Linked DNA regions of Homo sapiens: region 2 is linked to region 1. Evidence: promoter capture Hi-C in 16 types of primary human blood cells and fetal thymus (Javierre and others, 2016). All regions are on one chromosome and are shown on one strand. The core of a region is centred on a gene start or on the middle of the fragment in contact, and the rest is flanking DNA. Distances in the headings are between cores, read along the strand shown. Region 1 holds the start of AUTS2 (activator of transcription and developmental regulator AUTS2). Region 2 overlaps AUTS2 (activator of transcription and developmental regulator AUTS2).

Evidence for each region. Contacts are between HindIII fragments. The CHiCAGO score rates a contact against its expected background, and 5 or more counts as called.
Region 2: a contact is called between a fragment that was not itself captured here and the fragment with the promoter of AUTS2 in region 1, in 1 of 17 cell types (total B cells). The highest score is 5.0, in total B cells.

What each region holds. Positions count from the first base shown.
Region 1 is chr7:69,597,073-69,601,339 of GRCh38, reverse strand. It overlaps AUTS2 (activator of transcription and developmental regulator AUTS2), which reads right to left and starts at 2,865. Exons shown (of 19, transcript NM_015570.4): 1 at 1,378-2,865. The coding sequence starts at 1,686. CT66 (cancer/testis associated transcript 66) reads left to right here and starts at 3,716. Exons shown (of 3, transcript NR_148927.1): 1 at 3,716-4,267. RefSeq lists silencers at 1,552-1,621, 2,786-2,865, 2,886-3,305 and enhancers at 2,386-2,435, 3,616-3,695. The HindIII fragment of the contact is 6,527 bases long and covers 1-4,267 here.
Region 2 is chr7:69,824,516-69,828,873 of GRCh38, reverse strand. The region is part of intron 1 of AUTS2 (activator of transcription and developmental regulator AUTS2); the gene reads right to left. Among named protein-coding and RNA genes, the nearest start is that of AUTS2, 230 kb to the right of the region's middle. The HindIII fragment of the contact is 1,567 bases long and covers 2,084-3,650 here.

The DNA of each region.
Region 1 (4,267 bases), core at 1,616-4,115:
ATCTGAGCATGTGAAACAATACCATAATAACGCAAAAAAAAAAATGGAAAGGGAAAAGTTTCCTTCAGGAACCTCAAACCATCACATCAGGTGCATGAAACACTATAAGCCAACTATAAACCGTATCTTGGTTTTGTGCTTAAGAAAGGTGGACCAACTCTGCAGAATCTCAAAGCCTTCTGTGTGTGTGTGCATGGTGTGTGGGGGGTGGGGACAGGGAGGTGGGGGAGGAAATTAGGCGGTTAAATTTATAGAGGCCAATGACCAATACCACACCAAAGGAGACAGGTCCAGGCAAAGACAGTTTCCCCCCAACCCTGGACAGTCTCCCCCTCCCTCCCTTTTCCCTTTCCCCCTACCCTAGGAGCCAGTTGGCTGGAAGGAAAATGTGCATTTGAAAATCAACGCTGCAGGTGCCCAAGGAATAAAGAAAGACACACACATAGACACACACAAAGCCAATCACTTAGAAAGAAAAAAAAGAAAACACAAAAAAGGAAAGGGAGAGGGACAATTGGTGACAAGCCCTTCAGATAGCAGCTAGGATTTTATTCTTCCCTCCCACCAGTCTTCCCTGGTGTACCTTTTTCTGTCCTTTAACTAAATTGCTCATGTACACACACACATGTGCCTATGTATGTGTATAGATAATATTATAATTAACCCTTTCTGTAACAGAACCCCATACAGAATACAGAGAGCTATTCCACCCTTCCCTCTTCTCTCCCCTCCTCCCTCCTTTCTCCCAACCAGGAGAAAACGCCCCCTTCCCCAGCTTCACCAAAAAAAAAAAAAAAAAAAGAATATGGGGGGGTAATGGGGGGAGGCGCAAAGAAATCACAAAACCCCATCAGTCTCCAGTCCCGAGGACACCCGGGAAAGGTATATACTACACAGACACACACACACACACACACACACACACACACACGAACATATGACTCTGTAGAAAGCACACAGAACCGTCCACAGGCGCCCCAAACCCAGCAAAGAGACTTCCACCAGCCAAGAAGCCATGATTGGGGAGGGAGAGGAGGAAGGAGTGGGGGCAGAGCTCTCTGTGGAGAGGGGGCGCATTGTTGTGATGCCCGAACCCCTTTCTTTCTGCCCATCTGCTGTGGAGGGGGTGCAGGGAGGGGGCGCAGGGGAAAGGCGAGCGAGGAAACGAGACCAGGCACGGCTTTGCGACTCCCTCCTGCTGCCTGTCTGCCCGCGCCCCCAGCTCCCCCCACCAACAATAAGACCTCAGCCTAGACAGACAGACAGACAGACAGACAGACAGACAGCCCGGAGCGCGGCGAGGGAGGCAGGAGAGCCGGGCGCAGCCGAGTGGGGTCGTGCATAAAGGGAACCCGGGGGAAGGGGGGTCCCCCTTACCTCCAGCGCTTCAAAAGTGACAAAGCTGGTCATGGCAAATCCATCAATGATGTCCTCTTCTGCCGAGGTGGACTCTCTCCGCTTCCTCCGCGGGGGTCTGGGCCGGGACGGGGCGGAGGACGGGGGCTTCCCATTGTCTTCCTTGTCGGAGCCCGACGACGAGGCGAGTGAGAGCGCCCGGGTCCGGCCAGCCCCGCCGCCGCCGGCCGCGCCGGCCCCCAGCCCGCCCCGGGAGCGCCTCTCCCGGTCTCGCTGCGACCGCGACCGCCGCTTTTTGCGGAGTCCATGGCCCCGCGTCGGGCCATCCATGGTTCTGCTGCGCCGGGGTCTCCCCGCTTGCCCGCCACAGGCTACGGCCGCAGCCACACAAAAAAAAATTGACACCGAGCCCTCCCTCCCCCTTCACGGCTTCCCTCCGCCCCGAGGAGGGCGCGGGGGAGACGGCGGCCGAAAGAAGGGAGAGAGGGGAAGAAAGAGAGGAGAAAGAAAAGGGGGAAGGGGCGGAGAGAGGGGAGGAGGGACGGGGAGCGAGGGCGAGAGGCGAGGAGCCCAAGTGTGGGGCTCCCCACAGCACCGAGGGTCGGAGATGCCTGGGAGCAGCGCCGAGCAAAGTAATGGCTGAACACACAGGTCTCCTTTAGAGGAAAAAAAAATAACTCACCAAGCAAGCAATAAATCAGAATAGCGGAATGCTTTGATCAAGAGACTGGGAGGCTCCGGGGAGCCCTCCCCGCGGCCATTCTCCGCCGCGCCCCCCGCCCCCCGAAAACGCCCGCGCCCCCCTCAACTCGATCCAAAATCGGGTCCGAAAAAGGTCGCGGGAAAAGTGGGGGCAATGAACTTCACCCGCCCCTCGCGCAGGAAAACACCCCCGCCGCCTCTCACACACGCCTCGGAGAAAACTCACTCCCAGGCTCCCAAATTTTTAAGAAATGCAGCCAGGGGAGGCCGGGGCTCCGGAGCGACCCAAGAGGGGCGAGACCCCCCAGAGAGGGGAGCATAATAATGCAATCATTAGCGGAAGAGAGGGCGAAACTGCGAGCGGCGGAGGAGAAGGGAGGCGGAGGAAGGGAAGGAGGATGCTGCTGGAGCAGTTGTGGGGTTTGCTTTTCGGTCTTCGAGGGGGGAGGAGAGGGAGATGAAAGAAGAGAAGAAGCAAACCCTGTCGCTGCCACCCGCCCCCCTCCTCACAAAAATATTTTTTCCAGTCCCAGAGAAGAGGTCACCCTTCCTCAAAAAAGGGAGGGGGTGAGTCAGTCAGTCGATGAGGAAAGCAGAAAGAAATCTCCAGCGGGAGAGACACCGGTGTGCCGCCGCCGCCGCCGCCGCTTCTCTCGCCGCCCCGCCTGAGGGAGAAGCGCAGCCGGGAACGCTGCTCTCGCCGCCGCCGCTAACGCTGCTGCTGCTGCCGCCGCCGCCGCCGAGAAAGCCCCGAGCCGGAGGGTGCACGGCGTGTCCCCGGGCGGCTGCAGCGGGAGCCCGGGCACTGCCCCATCCTCCGCCCGCCCGCCTGCCTCGCGCAGCTCCCGCTCCTCCCCCTCCGCGGCCAGCCCACCGCCGCCGCCGCCGCCGCCGCCCGCCTCAGCCCAACCCCGCGCCCGCCCGCTCGCTCGCTCGCTCGCTCGCTCGTTCGTGCTTTCGCTCGCTCGCTCGAGTGCGCGCGCTCCCGCGCACCCGCCCTCCCCGCGCCTCTCTCGGCGCGCGCTCCCGCCCCCGCGGCCCCGGCCGGCGGGATCACGTGGACGGCTGGGCTCCCTCCTCCCCCGCCCCCTCCCCAGTTGTAGAGTGTGTAGAAAGCAAAAGGCTGGGGGCTGGCCGCGCTCGCGAGCCCAGGGCATGCGCGCTGGGGCGGCCGGGCCTGCGCACTGGGGGCGGTGGGGAGCTGTGAGGGGGGCGGGGGCGGGGGCGTGGAGGGGGCGCCCGCGTGGGGTCGGCCGCGGCCGGGCAGAGTTGGCGCGCCAGGGCGTGGAAGCCGCCGGAGGATCCCGCCTGTCGCAGCGGGGACGCGTGTGGGCCCCTGCTCCCAGGCCACTTCGCGCGCGCGCCCCCCACATCCTCCTCGGGACACTTGTCCCTGGATCCTCTACCCCTGGCCGGCCCGAGGCCGCCTTCTCGGGAAGCCCCACCAGCCCCCAAGGGTGTTTTCCCTTGGCTACCTGCGCTGCGAGGAGAGAAGGGAATTCAGAGAAGGGGTACAAGGGGGGCGTCCCTGGGAGGGGGCGCGACTGGAGGAGACAGAACGGGGAGCGGGTGCCAAAGCGCGGGCCTTTGCTCCGCCTGGGCGCAGTGGGAGCACCAACTGGCAGAGTTGGAAACTTTTCCTCCACGTGGCACCACAGTGCGTGGACGAGCGACCCCGCGCCCGGATGACCCCTGGGATTCCCGCCTCGTCTTCCAGCGGGGGACCTAGGGACGCACGGGCGGCTTCAGATCCGGGAGCGCGAGGCCTAACAGCCGGGGGCCGAACTTGAACCTCGGAGGCGGCCGCGGGCGAGGGGCGGGGCCGAAGGGGCCGGGACCGCCGCCCCAGCTCGAGGACCCGTTAGACCGGCAAACCGCAGTCCCTGCCCCGCGGGCTTCCTTTACTTTTTGGGAGTGGGGGGCGGTTTCCCTGCTTTTTCCACCACAGCCCCTCCTCCCGCCGCAATGTGGCTGATGCTCATAAAAAGTTGTATTAAAGAGCTGACTGCAGCCGAGAATCGATCAACAAAAGCGACCAGCCTCTCTGGGTAAAATAGCTGTGCGTTTTTCAGGGCACTGGAATTGATCTATACGGATCAGAAAGACCGACAGCCCGCTCTCAGCAGCCTCTTGGATACGCTTCACTTTCTGTCCAGGCACATAAACACCACGGCACCAACCCTTCGTCCTCCCTAGTAGCCCATACTTG
Region 2 (4,358 bases), core at 1,618-4,117, 230 kb before region 1:
AGGAGTTATGTATCATGTCAATTCTTACAGAAAGAATACTGAAAACCCCCAAGACAGTTTTTAAATGGCTGTTTTTCATCCTCATGGCCTGTCCCCTTGCTTTGGAGAAAATGCTAGCAGAAGTGATATGGAAGCAAAGTATGAGAACACTGGACATTACAATATAATATTTATGTTAATGTCTATGTTAATTGTGTGTGTCATACTTGTGTAAAAGCATTTCCAATATTTTCTAATTTTATCTCAAACCATCCTGTATGAATGGGGTAAGATAGTTATCAGTTATAATACACTAGACTGAAGGAAACAGAAAATCCAGCCAAAATAGTTAAAACGTGATTTTTCTTTCTCACACATAACAAGAAGTCCCAAAATGGAATGGACTCAGGCTGATCAATTCAACAGCTCCACAATATCATCAAAGATAGTATCTATCTTTTGTACAGCTTTGCTGTCCCCTGCATGTGGGCCTGTCCTCTTACGCTGGCTCACGGTTCAAAGATGGCAACTGCCAATTTCAAAGCACCACATGCAGACAACAACCAGATAGAAATTATACTTCTCTTCATCAAAATCAAGGAAACGTTTTCTAGAAGTGCCCACACAAGATTTCCCCTCATGTCCAGCCAGCCAGACCTGGACCTTCCTAAGCCCATCACTGACAAGGAGTAGAAATATAATGACTGGAATAGACTAATCAAGATGTACCCCCCTGAACTCAAGTCCACATGGAAGTGAACACCTAAATAAAATCAAAGTTCTGCAAGCAAGGATGTGAGGTGAGCTGACAAATTCGCATTGACATCTCCTCCACAGCAATGCTATCAACCTTGTTTCCCAACCCATTGATCAAGTCCTCACGGAATGCTGGTCCCCAGCCTGTATTATGTAATGTGATTTGAGGCATGGCAGTTTCTACAAAAGAATTACTGCAGAGCACTCTCGTCTACAAAAGACACGAGGCAAAATTAAAAGAAGAGGAAGGAAACCATGCTGTGGGCCTTCCTCTGTGGGAACCAGCATATTCACTGGCCACAGTGCTGCAGACAACTAGGAATGAGCAGTCATAGAGACATCCCATCAAGGTTTTCAGTGACTCCGTTCAAGTACAGTAAATAAGGAACAGAACAACCCTTCTCTCATTTCATGAGACTTTAAATGCCCCTTCTGATGCCAACCAAAAAGATAAGCTTTGTTTATCTTAACCACAATTGATGAAGTCAAGTGCTTACTTCCCCTTAAATGGAAGGAGTGCTTTTCTCCACCTCCCTACACCTTTCCCCTGGCCAAGTTTTAAGTTCTTGTGTTTTAAGTAAGAAGAGCTTCATGTGGTGTTCTAAAATCCACTTCATGCTTCAAATTTCTATTGAAGAATATACTGCAGCCATCTTCAGAATCCAGGGTTTTTTTAGGGGTTTTTTTTTCCCCTCTTCTTTTTCCCCCTCTATCACGGTTACAATCCATCTACGCAGGATAAGTGCATCCTGGATGGAGGTAAGTGTGCTGCGCAAACACACAGGGAGCTCTTGAGTACAAAAACCACTTTCCTGAGTTTGAGATCCTTAACTCTGACTGTTCTCCTTACATGCAAACATAAGTTAACAGTCTCTCTGGGATTGGGGGCAAGGAAGCAAAAAGACGCTTTGCTTATAAGAGGGAGAAAAGAGGAGAGTAAAGGCAGGACAGAAAGAACACATAGTCCAAGCAGATTCCTGGGTGTGGCTCTTTTCAAAATTCCCAGAAGCTACAACCACCTCTCCATGAGCTAGTTCTGGGGCCCAAGGAAAGCATTTCCCACCCTGGACCTGTCTGGTAACTGGGAGAAACACTCCCAAAAGTCAAGAAATTAGAAAGCTCAATAGCCAAATGCCTAATAAAGACAGAGCTGACATGAAATGGGTGTTGACTCTTTATCCCTTCACAGATAAACAATGTTATTTTTATCCTAGACTTCCTTGAGATGGAAGTAAAGGTAGACAGCATAGAACACATACTAGACACTCAATAATTTGTTGGAGGAAGGAAAACAACTCATAAACCACCCCAGAAAAATGTAGTCTTCCAAAACTAAATATATTAAGCTTTAACATTATCATCCTAGACACACAACATAGACTGAGAAAAACACCTTGCCTAGGAATAAAATACCACACACAAATATTCACACTTACAATAGACTAAAAGTGAAAGTAGGCATTTTGGAGAGGCAAGATCAGAATTCTTAATAAAAGATGACACTCTCTTGACTACATCAAGTGTATATTCCCGTCTATCAACTGTGCTCTACAGAGGCAAATGGCAAGATGCTTAATATTAATAGTTGCACACGCACACACACAAGCAAGCACATGCAATGCAAATAAAGGATTCAACTATGACAGCCAGGACAGAACCCTGAGATGCCATTAGTCACATTTATAGGGTGTTCTAATCCAAGCAAAAGTACTATCCAAAGCTCAGTGTACTGAAGGGATTTACAGTCAAAAGCTGTGGATTCAAGGCCCAGGTCTATCACCTTAGGCAGGTCACTTAACCTTGCCGCATCTTAAATTTTTTTATCCATAAACTGGAGACAATAATTAGTTACTTTGCCAGTCCACAGCCGTGTGAGAGATTAAAACCTTCTGGACAGGAAAACTATAAAATAACTAACTAACTATAAGGGGTTATCCTTACTTAATATACTTCTCAATCTACAAACCAAAAAATAACAAATTATCAAACTCCCAGGCCATTCTCCCCTGTGTTCATAGAATTCTCCCTGCATGAATAACTATAGCTGCAGGACCTGATTCAATATGGGCTACCTAAAAAGGAAAAGAAAGAAAGAAGAGTTTTTAAAAGGCCCTAATTCTCTTGACTGAAAAAGGTGTCTGTGTTTAAGAGCAAAACAGGGCAATAGAGAACCTGTTTCCAGTTGGAGTGCAGAACCACAACACTCATAAGGACTAGATGCTTAAAGAGGAAATAAATGGCACTACGTTAATTGCTTCTTTACCTGACAATTTATGTTGCACACAGCAAGCCTCTGCTGATCTTAACCAAGGATCAGTTTTATGCCTCAAGCATTCCGAAGCTGGGCGTCTTCCTCCTCCTGGAACAATAAAAGTGTATGCTTGTGGACCTGCTCCCTTACGGACCACTGAAGGAGAAAGGCTCAGGGATTAAGTAAAAAGGCTAGTACATCTGGGCTCCATTCCATTATTTAGTCATCCAAAAGAAGTGAAGTGGAGGATAGTGAGCATCTAGTATATGCCAGGCACTAGACTGGCTGCAGAGGATTCAGAGATACAAAAGACACACTTGTTACCCTCCAAACCGCTACCCAAATACAACCGCATGGCTCCATTGTCAAAATCAGCACTGCAATGGAAGACAACAAGGTTACTGCTGAGAAAAAGCAGAACTGTTCTCATGCCACTGGTTCTTCCATTAAGACAGTGCTTTCGGAGGAGAGCCTCTCAGCCCAGTTATACCCTAGAATCACCTAGGGAGTTTTTTAAAAACATCAATGCCTGGGCCCCATCCCAGAGCAACTATGTATCTGGAACTGGCCCAGGCACTAAAATTTCTTAAAAGCTCTGCCAGTGATTCTAATGTGACCCCAGGGTTGAGAACCATTGTTTTAAGTCCTTCTGCCCCAGGAAGCTTTCTCTCATACTGACAGATGGCAGTAATGCATAACAGAAGAGGTCTAAAATTGTTAAAGGACATGTGGCCTCATTCATATGGATTGCAAAAATTAATATTAAAAAGATAACTATGTAAACGCTAAAGAAAGCTCTACTTACTGGCTAAATAAAGAAATTTCTTTCTAAAATGGCCCAGGAAATATGTTAGCAAAAATGTTTCTTGATTTTAAGTTACTATCCACACAAAATCACCAGTAAACAGGAGCCACCGAAGTATAGTGAAGTATTTTCTGCATAAGGTTCAATCCCACCAACCCTTTGTCTTTTAACTTGTCATTAAAAGTCTTATTGCGCAATCTCCGAAATAGATACAGCTTTTGATTGCCAGCCAAAGCAGATCAGGAAATGCAGATTAAGTAGACAGCTGCAAAGCTCAATTTCACCAGTAACTACCCCAAACCACATATAAACTCAAGCCAGAAGGAGAAGTATGGCCAATGAAAGTGCCAAATGCCCAGGTCTTTTATCTGATTGCTCTGTTTCCATGGCCTTACCAAAATGAAGGGAAAGGTGACAATGTCCACAGAAAGGAAACGCAGACACTCCAGTGGCTTGTATGGCAAGGAGGGTTCTCAGAACTGAGGGGTTGTGAAGCTGATGAAAATGATAGTGAAGCCCAACCAAGATCGGCGATTAAAAAAAAAAATCGAGGGCTGGTTTCGGTTC